Regions from separate parts of the Homo sapiens genome. Here all the other regions are linked to region 1. The links are contacts of gene promoters, found by promoter capture Hi-C in human tissues and cell types (Jung and others, 2019). All regions are on one chromosome and are shown on one strand. Each heading gives the region's core, a stretch centred on a gene start or on the middle of the fragment in contact. The rest is flanking DNA. Distances are from core to core; before and after follow the strand shown.

Evidence for each region. Contacts are between HindIII fragments. The study calls those that stand out against the background at their distance.
Region 2: a fragment that was not itself captured here is called in contact with the fragment with the promoter of ZNF532 in region 1 in 1 of the 25 tissues and cell types used here (aorta).
Region 3: a contact is called between a fragment that was not itself captured here and the fragment with the promoter of ZNF532 in region 1, in 1 of the 25 tissues and cell types used here (dorsolateral prefrontal cortex).

Annotation. Positions count from the first base shown.
Region 1 is chr18:58,862,997-58,867,031 of GRCh38, reverse strand. It overlaps ZNF532 (zinc finger protein 532), which reads right to left and starts at 2,155. Exons shown (of 10, transcript NM_001375912.1): 1 at 1,647-2,155; 2 at 1,453-1,562. The HindIII fragment of the contact is 28,079 bases long and covers 1-4,035 here.
Region 2 is chr18:57,770,093-57,773,676 of GRCh38, reverse strand. The region is part of intron 1 of ATP8B1 (ATPase phospholipid transporting 8B1); the gene reads left to right. It overlaps LOC124904310 (a long non-coding RNA gene), which reads right to left and starts at 2,585. Exons shown (of 2, transcript XR_007066388.1): 1 at 2,447-2,585. The HindIII fragment of the contact is 5,328 bases long and covers 1-3,584 here.
Region 3 is chr18:57,659,933-57,664,104 of GRCh38, reverse strand. It overlaps ATP8B1 (ATPase phospholipid transporting 8B1), which reads left to right. Exons shown (of 28, transcript NM_001374385.1): 21 at 1,490-1,622; 22 at 2,643-2,931. All of the region lies in intron 2 of ATP8B1-AS1 (ATP8B1 antisense RNA 1), which reads right to left. Among named protein-coding and RNA genes, the nearest start is that of ATP8B1-AS1, 32 kb to the right of the region's middle. The HindIII fragment of the contact is 6,266 bases long and covers 1-4,172 here.

The DNA.
Region 1 (4,035 bases), core at 906-3,405:
TGGATTCGGATCTGCTTTGCAAGCATATTCCTGCCACACTCATACACAGAACCTCTGGCAGTCAGAAATGATGGAGAATTGAAAACCAATTTTAGCACAGTGATTTGTAAAGAATTTTGTTCCATCATGTAAGCTATTTACTGGTATATCCGTCCAAGATTACATTTATCTCTATTAAATACTCCATAAAGTATCCTGAGCTAACCATGCACTCTTGTTTCCCTTTTGCCAGTTTTATCACATAGTGGATGTTCTGTAGCCAAATGAAAAACATTTTAACAATAAAACCCTTGCATACTTGACGTCCTTCACTGCAGATATCCTGCCCACCAACTGCCAGCACACAACTTAACCAATTCCAAGATCCTCGGCACTGCTGAAAAGCCCCTATTCTGCTGAACACGGAGAGGAACAAAATGCCCACTTCGAAGTAGGGGAAAATTTTATTTTCAGTCATGTCTTCTATGGGCTCCTCTTGACTGTACTTTTACCAAAAACCAGCAGAAAGGCAGGACCAGTTCTATCTGTTGTTGAGATCACACTGGATCCCATTCTGGAGCTGCTGGTTTCCTGTTTGGGGAAGTTGCAGTTCTTTTCACAAGGAACCCAAGGCAAAATGTTGAGTGTTCTCCTGCAAGCCCCCTCAGCCTTTGTTCTTCACTTTGCTACTCTCCTCACTCCTTCCTTCTCTCCTCTCCTCTCCAACCTCTGGTTTTGGAAGGTGCATTAAAATGCCTGCTCAAACCTAACTGCGATCTTTAAAGGCATCAGACATTTTCTACCACCCATTCCAGTACAGCTTTGAGTTAACAGGCATCTTTTCACAGATGAAGCCAGACTACCCGGCTTCCCCCTGGTATTGCATTAGTATTCCACATTAAACATATGCCACAAAGAATCCAATGGCGAACTCACCGTCAACAGCCCCCAAAATCAATAAAAGACATTCCACCACTTGAGTCGGAGTGAAAAACCTTTCAGGTTAACACAAGAGAGCAAGGTAAAAGAAAGGTGATGAATGAACAAAAGGCAAATCTACCTTCAGACTCCTCAAATCCTAAAAAGGTGGCTAGGCTGCCTCGATTTGGTGAAGCCCTTCCTTTTCTTATAATCATCGGGAAAATGCCACATGTGTACTGCTTTCGTCTTATGCAAAACAGCACATTCTCCACAAGGCCCTGACGCCTACCATTCTCCACACTCGCTTCCTTCCAGGCCTGACTCTCCCAATTGCCCAGACACATGCGATTTAATGAAGGCATTCAGATTTCGCCTTGATCGCAATACCATCATAAAGTCACTCTAATCCCATTAAACTGGGATAACATTAAGAGCATTTCTTCTCCACTCTGAACCCAATTTTATCTCCTGGGTAGCAATCCACGGTCCGTCTGTGTCTAAATGGATCTGCAAATAAATATTTAAATTCATGCTCAAAACAGCGTATCTCACCTTGTGAACCTTGACCTTTTGGAAAGACTTTAGACCAATGTTCAGTTACTGTCACACGGCTGCATTCTCAGCAAATAGGAAAGGGTTAAAAGCAGCCCCAGTCAACAGGCCTACAAGGAAAAAAAAGACAGCATGTATGGCTAACAGCATCACTGGAATGCATTTATGTTCATTTCCTAGAACGATATTGTTACCTTTTGGCCTTCATAATAGTCAGAAGCATCCCCAACACCCTTTAGTAGCTTCTAAAAGAAAAAGCACAAGACAGAACATACCCTGCAAGAGAAAAAAAGCATGCAAAGTAGCATTCTCCAGCAACAAACAAACTACCATTACAAACCCCTCAGTTCATTTTGGTTTTGTTTTGTTATAAACACCGAGAAAGAGAGAGAGAGACTGCATCAACCAAGTGTCCCCACCCTAGCAAGGCACATTTTTTTCTCTAATAAGGGTCATAAATCTCAGCTCCTTGTCCATCCCTTAAGCAAAAGAAAAAGGCAGGAAAAGCCCAAGTAATCTCAGACCCTGCAAACCTGCACCTTTTTTTCCATCTTCTCTACCCAGAATCTTTTAGGGCTCCATTAGTCACGTACCAGTGCTGTGTGGTGTCTAAGTGTGCATTCACATACTGTGTAGGGATGGTACCTTCCTGCAAGCTCCTCTGCTTTTGGCTGCCATGAAGGGAGGAAGCTGCTATCCTACTGTAGTAGCTCAGTGACTGCATTGTGTTCAGGAGCTGATCTGCCTCAAACCAGTTTCAGCCGGTTCTGGTCACCCTACATAAAAAAGCTATGGCAACCCTCGCTGAGTTGCCAACAAGTCCCTGAAAATCATCAGCACAGGGGGGATCTCGCTGGGGTTTGCTCTTCCCTCTTAGGTCTTCCTGAGGAGGAGAAGGTCATCGTGTGTCCCCCCACCCCACGAGCACACAGCCTTGGAAATGCTCACCTCGCAAGCACCCCAGAGCCCCTCAGGGCCCATCCCCCCTCCCCTCCACCCCACAGCCCACCGCAGACACTGTTTCCCCCTCCTTCTCCTTCCCCCACTTACCTCCCACAACCTGGCTCAGATCTTTGTGTACGTGTGTGTCAGTGTGTGCTCTCTGTGTTGGTGGCTGACAAAGAGCCCCCAAGAAAGCGAGCTATGTGTGTCTGCTCACACGGGATGCGTCGGCTGCAGAGCCGGCCTGGCCTCCTAGCACAGTGGTGCTGGCTTGTTGACCAGGCTCCTCTCTGCTGTCACCCCCACCCCACCCAGCCCCCTCCTCCCTTCCGTCCCTCTCCTCTCTCTCCCAGCCCTGTCACCACCACCAGCAGCCCCCCAGTCTCCTCCTCCTCCTCCAACCTTCTCTTCTTTCAAGCACCTGGGGGGAGAAGTCCAAATCCCTTCACCTCGGGGGAAGAAAACTGGGGCTGTCTGGGGAGGGGGCGGGGGGCGAAGGCAGGGCCAGTGGGAGAGGGGGCACGGAGGCCTCTGGAAACGCATCTGTGCCCGGCCGGCGCCGGCGGGGGGAGTAGGAGAGCCGCGCTCACGTGGCCCCCGTCTCGTAACCTGCGGGGCCTAGCCCGGGCGGTTCCTCCTCGGCCCCCCAAGCCAGCTGGCGGGGCGCGAAGGCCGGCTGTCCCCAAGGCCAGGGTGGGACAGGCCACTGCGGGCAGGCCCAGGGGCCTGAGCCTCACGCGCTCACCCCGGCCCGCAGGAGTGGGCACGAGGGGCCGCACCCCGCCTCTGCCCGGCGCCCACCCGCGCCCCTGGGTCCGGCTGCCCTGCGCCCCTCGTTCGCCCCGGCCGCCTCCCGCCGCCCCGCACCCCCAGAGGCGCACACCCACCCCCTTCCCGGGGTTGGCCTTCGCGGCGGTCAAGCCCGGGCGTCTGGGCCGCAGCTCGGATGACCTTTGTTCAGCGCGGCGCCGCCGGCGGCTGCTGCTGTGGCTGCTGCTGCTGTCGTCGGAGCGGCGGCGGCGGCGGCTTCCATGTTACGGGCGTGTCATCTGCGTTCCCGCTGCCGGGGTCTGTGTGTGCGTGTGCGGTGGAGCGGCCTCGCCGCCGGGCCGGGCGGCGGCGGCGGCGGCGGCTCGGCCCGGGCGGCGAGCGAACAAAAGGGAGCGCGGGCGAGGGGGAGGGGGCGGCCGGTGGGGGAAGGGAGCTCCGGGACCGGGCGGCGGCAGCGCGAAGCCCCGCGGCCGGCGGGCGCCGACGCCCGGCCGCTGCGGAGCCCCGAGTCCGGCGGCGGCGAGAAGGCGCCCCGCGGACCTGCCAAGTCTCGCCCATACGGGGCCGCTGGCTCGCGGCTTCGCCCCGGGAGTGGAGCGGGGTGGTGGGGCTGGTGAGGGGGCGCAGGGAGGGCTGCTTTTTTCCAACGACATTGCGGGCTCTCACCCAGTCCTTTCCGTGGCCCCAAGCCGCGACTTACTCGAGTGGAAGGAAGCAAGGCCTCGCCAAAGATGGTTGAAAAGACCGTGAGCCTCTACCCAGGATCTTGAAGCCAAGGTGGTGGTTTGTTTTCCTCGTAATGATGGCAAATGAGTAAGAAGAGAGCACGCTATCTTCGGACAAATTAAATCTGAAATTCTCCCTGGAGGT
Region 2 (3,584 bases), core at 312-2,811, 1.1 Mb after region 1:
TGGAGTTATGAGGGAAATTGAGGGGTTCAGTCTTAGGTTTGAGTAGACACTTGAAGTTTGAAATTTAGCTTCCTTTGGCTAAATATGGAAACATTTGGGGGAACCACCCTCTTCTTGAATAAAATGCTAATAAGTGCGTATAGAATGTCAGGGCCAAATAAGAACCCTTGCAGAGTTCAGCTGCCTGCAGCAGTTGCTAAGGCTAGAAACTGGGCACCTTTTTCAATGTTTTTCCTCCCAGACCCCCTGCCCGGATGAAGTGAGTTGTAAAATGCTGCCTCTGCCTCTGAAAGTTCTGCCAGAAATCCCACCCTTTCTGTCTGCACCACCTTATTAGCCTCCGCCTTTGGCCCCTGTTGCCAGAGGACAGTAAGGACTTTCTGCACTCTTGTCTTGGCCACAGATTAACACCATCTTTTCCTGGAGTCCTTGGTCAGGGTTATCATTTCTTTCTTTTCTTTTTTTTTTTTTTTTTAAGACAGAGTCTCGCTCTGTCACCCAGGCTGGAGTGCAATGGTGTGATCTTGGCTCACTGCGTCCTCTGCCTCCTGTGTTAAGAGATTTTCCTGCTTCAGCCTCCTGAGTAGCTGGAATTACAGGCATGCACCACCACACCCAGCTAATTTTTGTATTTTTAGTAGAGATTTGTTAGTAGAGCCTCTGCCTCCCGTAGTGTTGGAATTACAGGCATGAGCCACCGCTCCAGGCCTAGGGTTATCATTTCTAAAATGCAAATCTGATTAAAACAGTTCATGTTGTTGAGGCCCCAGCCTCTTTGCACAGATGGATCCTGCACTTCTGCTCCCCACCTCCTCACCTCTGCAGGTGCTTCAACTTCAGGAACCAACTCACTTCTTCCAGAATAGCTTCCTAGGCCCCCTTCCCTGCTCTATGTCCTCATCGTCCCTGTTACTTCTCCATCACAGCAGAGAGGCTTCTGTGCGCCGAATTCCTAGGGTCTGCCTTACCTTAGACTTTAAGCTTCATAGGGACAGGAGCCACGTTGCTCACCAGCAGCTGACTGAATACCTGCCACGAGGTCGGGACGTGTTGTTTACTCAATGCATGGGAGAACTCAGATGGCCTCTCCCTGCTTAGCACACAAATTCCAAATGCCGCTAGCACCCAAGGCCTTCCCAGCCTTGCCTCAGTCTGCTTTCCAGTCTCCTCTTCCAACTCTCTTCTTCTTCCTCCCCTGTCTACCCGCACTTTAGTAACTGAACTAATCCTGTGTGCCTTCAGTGCTGCAGAATATTTGCCCCCAGGGATTTCTTTCCAGAAATGCCTTTCTCCTCTCACTTTCTATCTCCCAATCAGATAGTGGCCCAGCTTGGGACTTGACCTTCAAGGCCAACTCAGCATCCCTCCTGTCTCTCTCCATCCCTGATCATCAGGTATAATTGACTGCTTTCTCCTCCACTTCTCCCGCTAGCAATACTCACAGTGAATGTCATGGTAAGGTGTTTATTTGCCACTGATGGGCGGGTAGTAGAGGAACAATGGAATTTTACATTTTAGGAGGCTTGTTCCTTATAATTATCTTAGCTCTTTTATAAAGCACTGATAGGTAACAAAATTACAGGTTTGAACTCAGAAAGCTTGCAAAGTTTTTGTTTTTGTTTTGTTTTTAGGATAACTTTAGGGAGATTTCTAAGTATTGTATAGGTTCAGTTAACCAACATAACATGTTTTTTAGGAGTATAAACATTATAGAGATGTCTGCCGACTAATTAGTATGTCGATTGTAGTTTTAATCGTGAAAATTGGGGTGGGAACAGCTAAAGGCAGAGCTAACTGGTTTTTTCCCAGGTATTTATCATGAGTTGTGTGCCTTAGGCTGTGTTCCCTTTTGAATGTGGTTTTTCTGGTTGTTCTGACAGCACTGCTAAGTGTGCCCTTTGACATTACTGGAGAACTAATTTATATTGATGGTGCCACTCATATCTTTGGAAACTGGATATGTTCTGATCAGCTCATTGATTTCTAACCTGTAGGATTACAGTAAAATTTAGACCTGAGGCACCACCCAGAAACTCCTGCTGCTGTATGTGGCCTGAATGAATCAAAATATGCTTGGACAGCTCATTATTTAACAGAAAACTCTGCCTTTGGCTTTTGAAGAGCAGATGTCCAAATGTAACTTGTCAGCCTGATTTTTGGAAGCTTGAGCAAGGGGAACCTGGTTATCTCAGACCATTTCGTAATTATAAAGAAAGTGAATTGAAGGATCAGGAAGTAAGTGAATTGAAGGATCAGGAAGTAAGGGAATTGCCTAACAATAGGAGATGCACCACGCCCAGTGCTGAGAGAGGTAGACTATATCACGCTTAATAAAACTGTCTGAATGAGTGATGGACTACTCCCATATCCTCTAAAGGAGGTAGTCTGACTCCTACAGAAACAGCTCCATTTTGATTTTAGGAGGTGGTTGTGATATAAGACTTACCATCTTAATTCTGCCATCAGTTGCAATCAGCATTAATTGCAAATCTCTTTCTGACAAAAATTCAAGTCCAGGCAGGGTGCAATGGCTCACGCCTGTAATTCCAGCACTTTGGGAGGCTGAGGTGGGCAGATCACTTGAAAAGGAGTTCAAAACCAGCCTGACCAACATGGTGAAACCCTGTCTCTACTAAAAATACAAAAATTAGCTAGGTGTGGTGGCACGTGCCTGTAATCCCAGCTATCAGGAAGCTGAGGCAGGAGAATCGCTTGAACCTAGGAGGCAGAAGTTGCAGTGAGCCGAGATCGTGCCACTGCACTCCAGCCTGGGCGACAGAGCGAGACTCTGTTACAGAACAAAACAAACAAAATTCACATCCATGTTTCTAGAAGAACGGTGACTTTAACTCGTATCTGACTGTCCCTTTGCTGTTCTGTCCTTAACATTGGGGCATGTTGACATGTTTTCACCTACAGGTATATTGCCATGAACTTGCGATCTGCCGCAGTAGGCAAGCCCCAGTATACCTGTCCCCTGCGTGTGGTTTGCCCCCAAGGGGTAGCCTCCCCACTGGCTGGCTTGCAGTGCATCTCAAAGTCCCTGTCTCAGCCTCTCCTTCTCCTCTATCCCATTTCTACCCATCTGGAGCTCCTGCCTCAACAATTTGGCTCCAGGGGTACCCTGTTCTGAGGGTGGGCCGGCTGGAGGCAGGAGAAAGGAGCCTTGTGTCTCACGGAGTGAGGAAGATCCCAAACTGGATGGAGGCAAAGTGGATGGTAACTAAATTCTGTGGTGCCATTGCATATAGAACACAGGCCTGTCAAGGCAAGTGGCATTTTGTGGACTGCTCTGGAAAGTGCTAAACAAATTTTGAGACATCTAACCGAAATGTGAAATATTGGACTGCGGTTCCCATTGGCAGCTGGGGTGGGTGGGCACCTAGGGAAGCTTGCTAGGCTGAGGCACTTCTGCCTGAGTGCAAGAAAAAGCAGTTCTCATTAGCTGGGCATGGTGGCATGCACCTGTAGTCCCAGCTACTCAGGAGGCTGAGGCAGGAGAATCGCTTGAACCTGGGAGGCAGAGGTTGCAGTGAGCTGAGATCGCACCACTGCACTTCAGCCTGAGTGAGAGAGTGAGACTC
Region 3 (4,172 bases), core at 817-3,316, 1.2 Mb after region 1:
TTACATGTCGCTCAGTTAAAAAAAAAAAAAAAAAAGGGCTGGCCAGGCGTGGTGGCTCATGCCTGTAATCCCAGCACTGTGGGGGGCTGAGGCGGGTGGATCATGAAGTCAAGAGATTGAGACCATCCTGGCCAACATGGTGAAACCCTGTCTCTACTAAAAATACAAAAATTAGCTGGGCATGGTGGTGCCCGTCTGTAGTCCCAGCTACTTGGGAGGCTGAGGTGGAAGAATAGCTTGAACCTAGGAGGTGGATGTTGCAGTGAGCTGAGATAACACCACTGCACTCCAGCCTGGTGACAGAGCGAGACTCTGCCTCAAAAAAAAAAAAAAAAAAAAAAAATGGGCAAAGCACTTTGAGTAGACATTTTTCCAAAGAGGACATGCAAATGGCTGATAAACATGTGAAAGGAGGCTCATCATCACTAATCATTAGGGGAAGATAAATCAAAACCAAAGCAAGATAACACCTCACACCCTTTAGGATGGCTACTATCAAAAACAAAACACAATAGAAAATAACAATCATTGTTGAAGGAACCTTTGTGTGTTGTTGATGAAATATATAAAATGGTGCAGCCACTATGCAAAACAGTATGGTGATGTTTCAAAAAATTTCAAAAAGGATTACCATATGATGCAACAATCCCACTTCTGGGTATATCCACAAAATAATTGAAAGCAGGATCTCAAAGAGATACATGCACACCCATGTTCACAGCAACACTGTTCACAGCAGCCAAGAGATGGACGCAACCCAGGTGCCCATCAGTGAGTGAATGGATAAACAGAATGTGGTGCTTCCACATAATGGAATATATTCAACTTTAAAAAGGAAGGAAATTATGACATATATTATATAGATGAACCTTGAAGACATTAAGCTAAGTGAAATAAACCAGTCACAGAAAGACAAATACTGTTTGATTTCACATATATGAGGTATCTAGAGTGCTCAAATTCATTCAAACAGAAAGTTAACTGGAAGTTACCAGGGACTGGAGGGCGAGTGAGGTGAGGTGTTATTGTTTAATAGGTATAGAGTTTCCGTTTTGCAAGATGAAAAAGTTCTAGAGATTGGTTGGATAACAATGTGACTATAGTTAACACTACTAAGTTGTACACTTAAAAATGGTCAAAGCCCGGGATATGGCAAAACCCTATTGCTACAAAAAATACAAAAATTAGCCAGGCGTGATAGCGTGTGCCTATAGTCCCAGCAACTCAGGAGGCTGAGGCAGGAGAATCACTTGAGGCTGGGAGGTCAAGGCTGCAGTGATCCATGATCATGCCACTGCTCTCCAGCCTGGGTGACAGAGTGAGACCCTCTCTCAAAAAAATTATAATGAAAATAAAATAAAGAAACAAAAATAGGTAAGATGGTAAACTTTGTTTTTTTGTCACAATTTTTTTTAAGTCAAAGTTATCTCAGAGTCAAGGGCCTATTTAGGGTCTTACACTTTAAACACTGAAATTTGGTTTCCCCTAGTTCTCTTCTTCATGCAAGGATGGAAAACCAGAGGAATAGAGGTGGCGTCTACGCAAAGTTTGCACCTCCTGTGCAGGAATCTTTTTTTCCACCCGGTGGAAACCGTGCCTTAATCATCACTGGTTCTTGGTTGGTACGTATCATTAGTGTATCTGTGCCTTTAACTCAAAAGAAAGAAGTTCATTTGGAGCCACTTTTAGATGCTTTCACATGTTAACTGCCAACCTAAAAGTCTCTTAGCCTATACATGAAAGTGTGGTTTTTCCAAGTTTGAGACTTAATAATATATGATATATGAAAGGATGTATACCAAAGAGGTAAAAGTGGTTATCTTGGTTTACTAATTAATGGGTTTTTTCATTTTCTTCTTTATAGATTGTTAGATTTTCTAAATTTTTGTTGCATATATATTTTATAAGCTGGATGTGGTGGCATGCGCCTGTAGTCCCAGCTCCTCTGGAGGTTGAAGCAGGAGGGTGGTTTGAGCTTAGGTGTTCGAGGCTGCAGCATGCAATGATCACACTTGTGAATGAATAGCCACTGCACTTCAACCCAGGCTATACAGCAAGACCCCATCTCCATTGAAAAATATATATATAGCTGAGCACAGTGGCTCACGCCTGTGCTCCCAGCACTTTGGGAGGCCAAGGCGGGCAGATCACAAGGTCAGGAGATGGAGACCATCCTGGCCAATATGGTGAAACCCCGTCTCTACTAAAATACAAAAAAAATAATTAGCCAGGCGTGGTGGTGCACACCTGTAGTCCCGGCTACTCGGGAGGCTGAGGCAGGGAAATTGCTTGAACCTGGAAGGCAGAGGTTACAGTGAGCCGAGATCGTGCCACTGCATTCCAGCCTGGCAACAGAGTGAGACTCCATCTCAAAAAAAAAAAAAAAAAAAATATATATATATATATATGTGTGTGTGTGTGTGTGTGTATATACATACACACATACATATATGTGTGCGTGTGTATATACATACACACGCACACATATATATACATGTTTTGGTTATAAAATCAAATTTATTTGTCAAATATAATCAGTGACATAATCCAAAAATTATCCTTCACATAATTTAAATCTTGGGAATGGTACTCCTGGGGTAAAACTAAAGTGAATGTAACCTTTTCCCTCTCTGATTTCACAGAATGAAATTCTTCTCGAGAAAAAGACCAAGAGAAATAAGATTCTGAAGCTGAAGTTCCCAAGAACAGAAGAAGAAAGACGGATGCGGACCCAAAGTAAAAGGAGGCTAGAAGCTAAGAAAGAGCAGCGGCAGAAAAACTTTGTGGACCTGGCCTGCGAGTGCAGCGCAGTCATCTGCTGCCGCGTCACCCCCAAGCAGAAGGCCATGGTGGTGGACCTGGTGAAGAGGTACAAGAAAGCCATCACGCTGGCCATCGGAGATGGGGCCAATGACGTGAACATGATCAAAAGTGAGTCATGCACCCACGGCCAGTGAGGCCCAACGTGCTAGAGAGGAGAAATGGCTGGAATGTGTAGGGGGTGGATTTTCTTTTTTTAGATTTTACAGCTTAGGTTTTCATAGAGCAGATGTTTCATAAAGTCACTTAACCATGACAACGCCTGTGACCCTACCCCCAGAAAGCCCACAGCCCATCAGGAGGAAAGAGTATCACTGACAGGGCTTCTGAAGGATGCGAAGAGGAAAATAAGGTCTATGGGGGGAAATTTATCCTTATATTTTTATTCTTTTATATAGATGTTGTGTATTTTTTTCTCTCTTACTGGTTCTCTTCCCATATTTTGGGTTTATTAAAAGCCCTGATATTGGCTGGGCACAGTGGCTCACGCCTATAATCCCAGCATTTTGGGAAGCCGAGGCAGGTGGATCACAAGGTCAGGAGTTCGAGACCAGCCTGATCAAGATGCTGAAACCCCGTCTCTATTAAAAATACAAAAATTAGCCAGGTGTGGTGGTGCACACCTGTAATCCCAGCTACTCGGGAGGCTGAGGCAGGAAAATCACTTGAACCCAGGAGGCGGAGGTTACAGTGAGCTGAGATCGTGCCACTGCACTCCAGCCTGGACGACAGAGTGAGACTCCATCTCAAAAAAACAAAACAAAACAAAAAACCCTGATATTTAATAAGTTTTGTAAGACATAAATTATTGAACTCTGGCTGGTGCTTGCTTTGACAATATCATTCTCCTTCATCTAAGCATTTCTTTCTGGGACTTTCTTCCTACCTTTGGTAAATCTGTGGGAACTTCATCATTGGGTCACCTGGTGTGAGTTTAGAGTAACATGTTTAGCACTGAAGAAAAGCTTCCACGTGCTCTCATCATCCTCCTCACCTCCCTAGAAGGCTGCCTTTTTCTGGATGCTAGAATTTAAGTCCACACAATTAAAATATTGAGTCCTGCCATGCAGAAATACAGTTGTGCTGGTATTAAAGCCTGCAGAAGCACACCCACAGCCCTCATCTCTATGTCTGAATTCTGTTCCTTTTTCCTCCCTCTGTCACTATAAGGGAGTATCTTGTATTAAAAATACTCAAACTAATGACCTGGATATTCATCCTCATCCTATTGCCAAAATCCGGTGTCACCTTGGGCTTATGCTCAGGTTTCAGTTTTCTCATCGGAAAAGAAAATAATCCCTAATGTCACCTCCAGCTCTGTCGTATTATTATCACTGAGCTGAAGTATTACC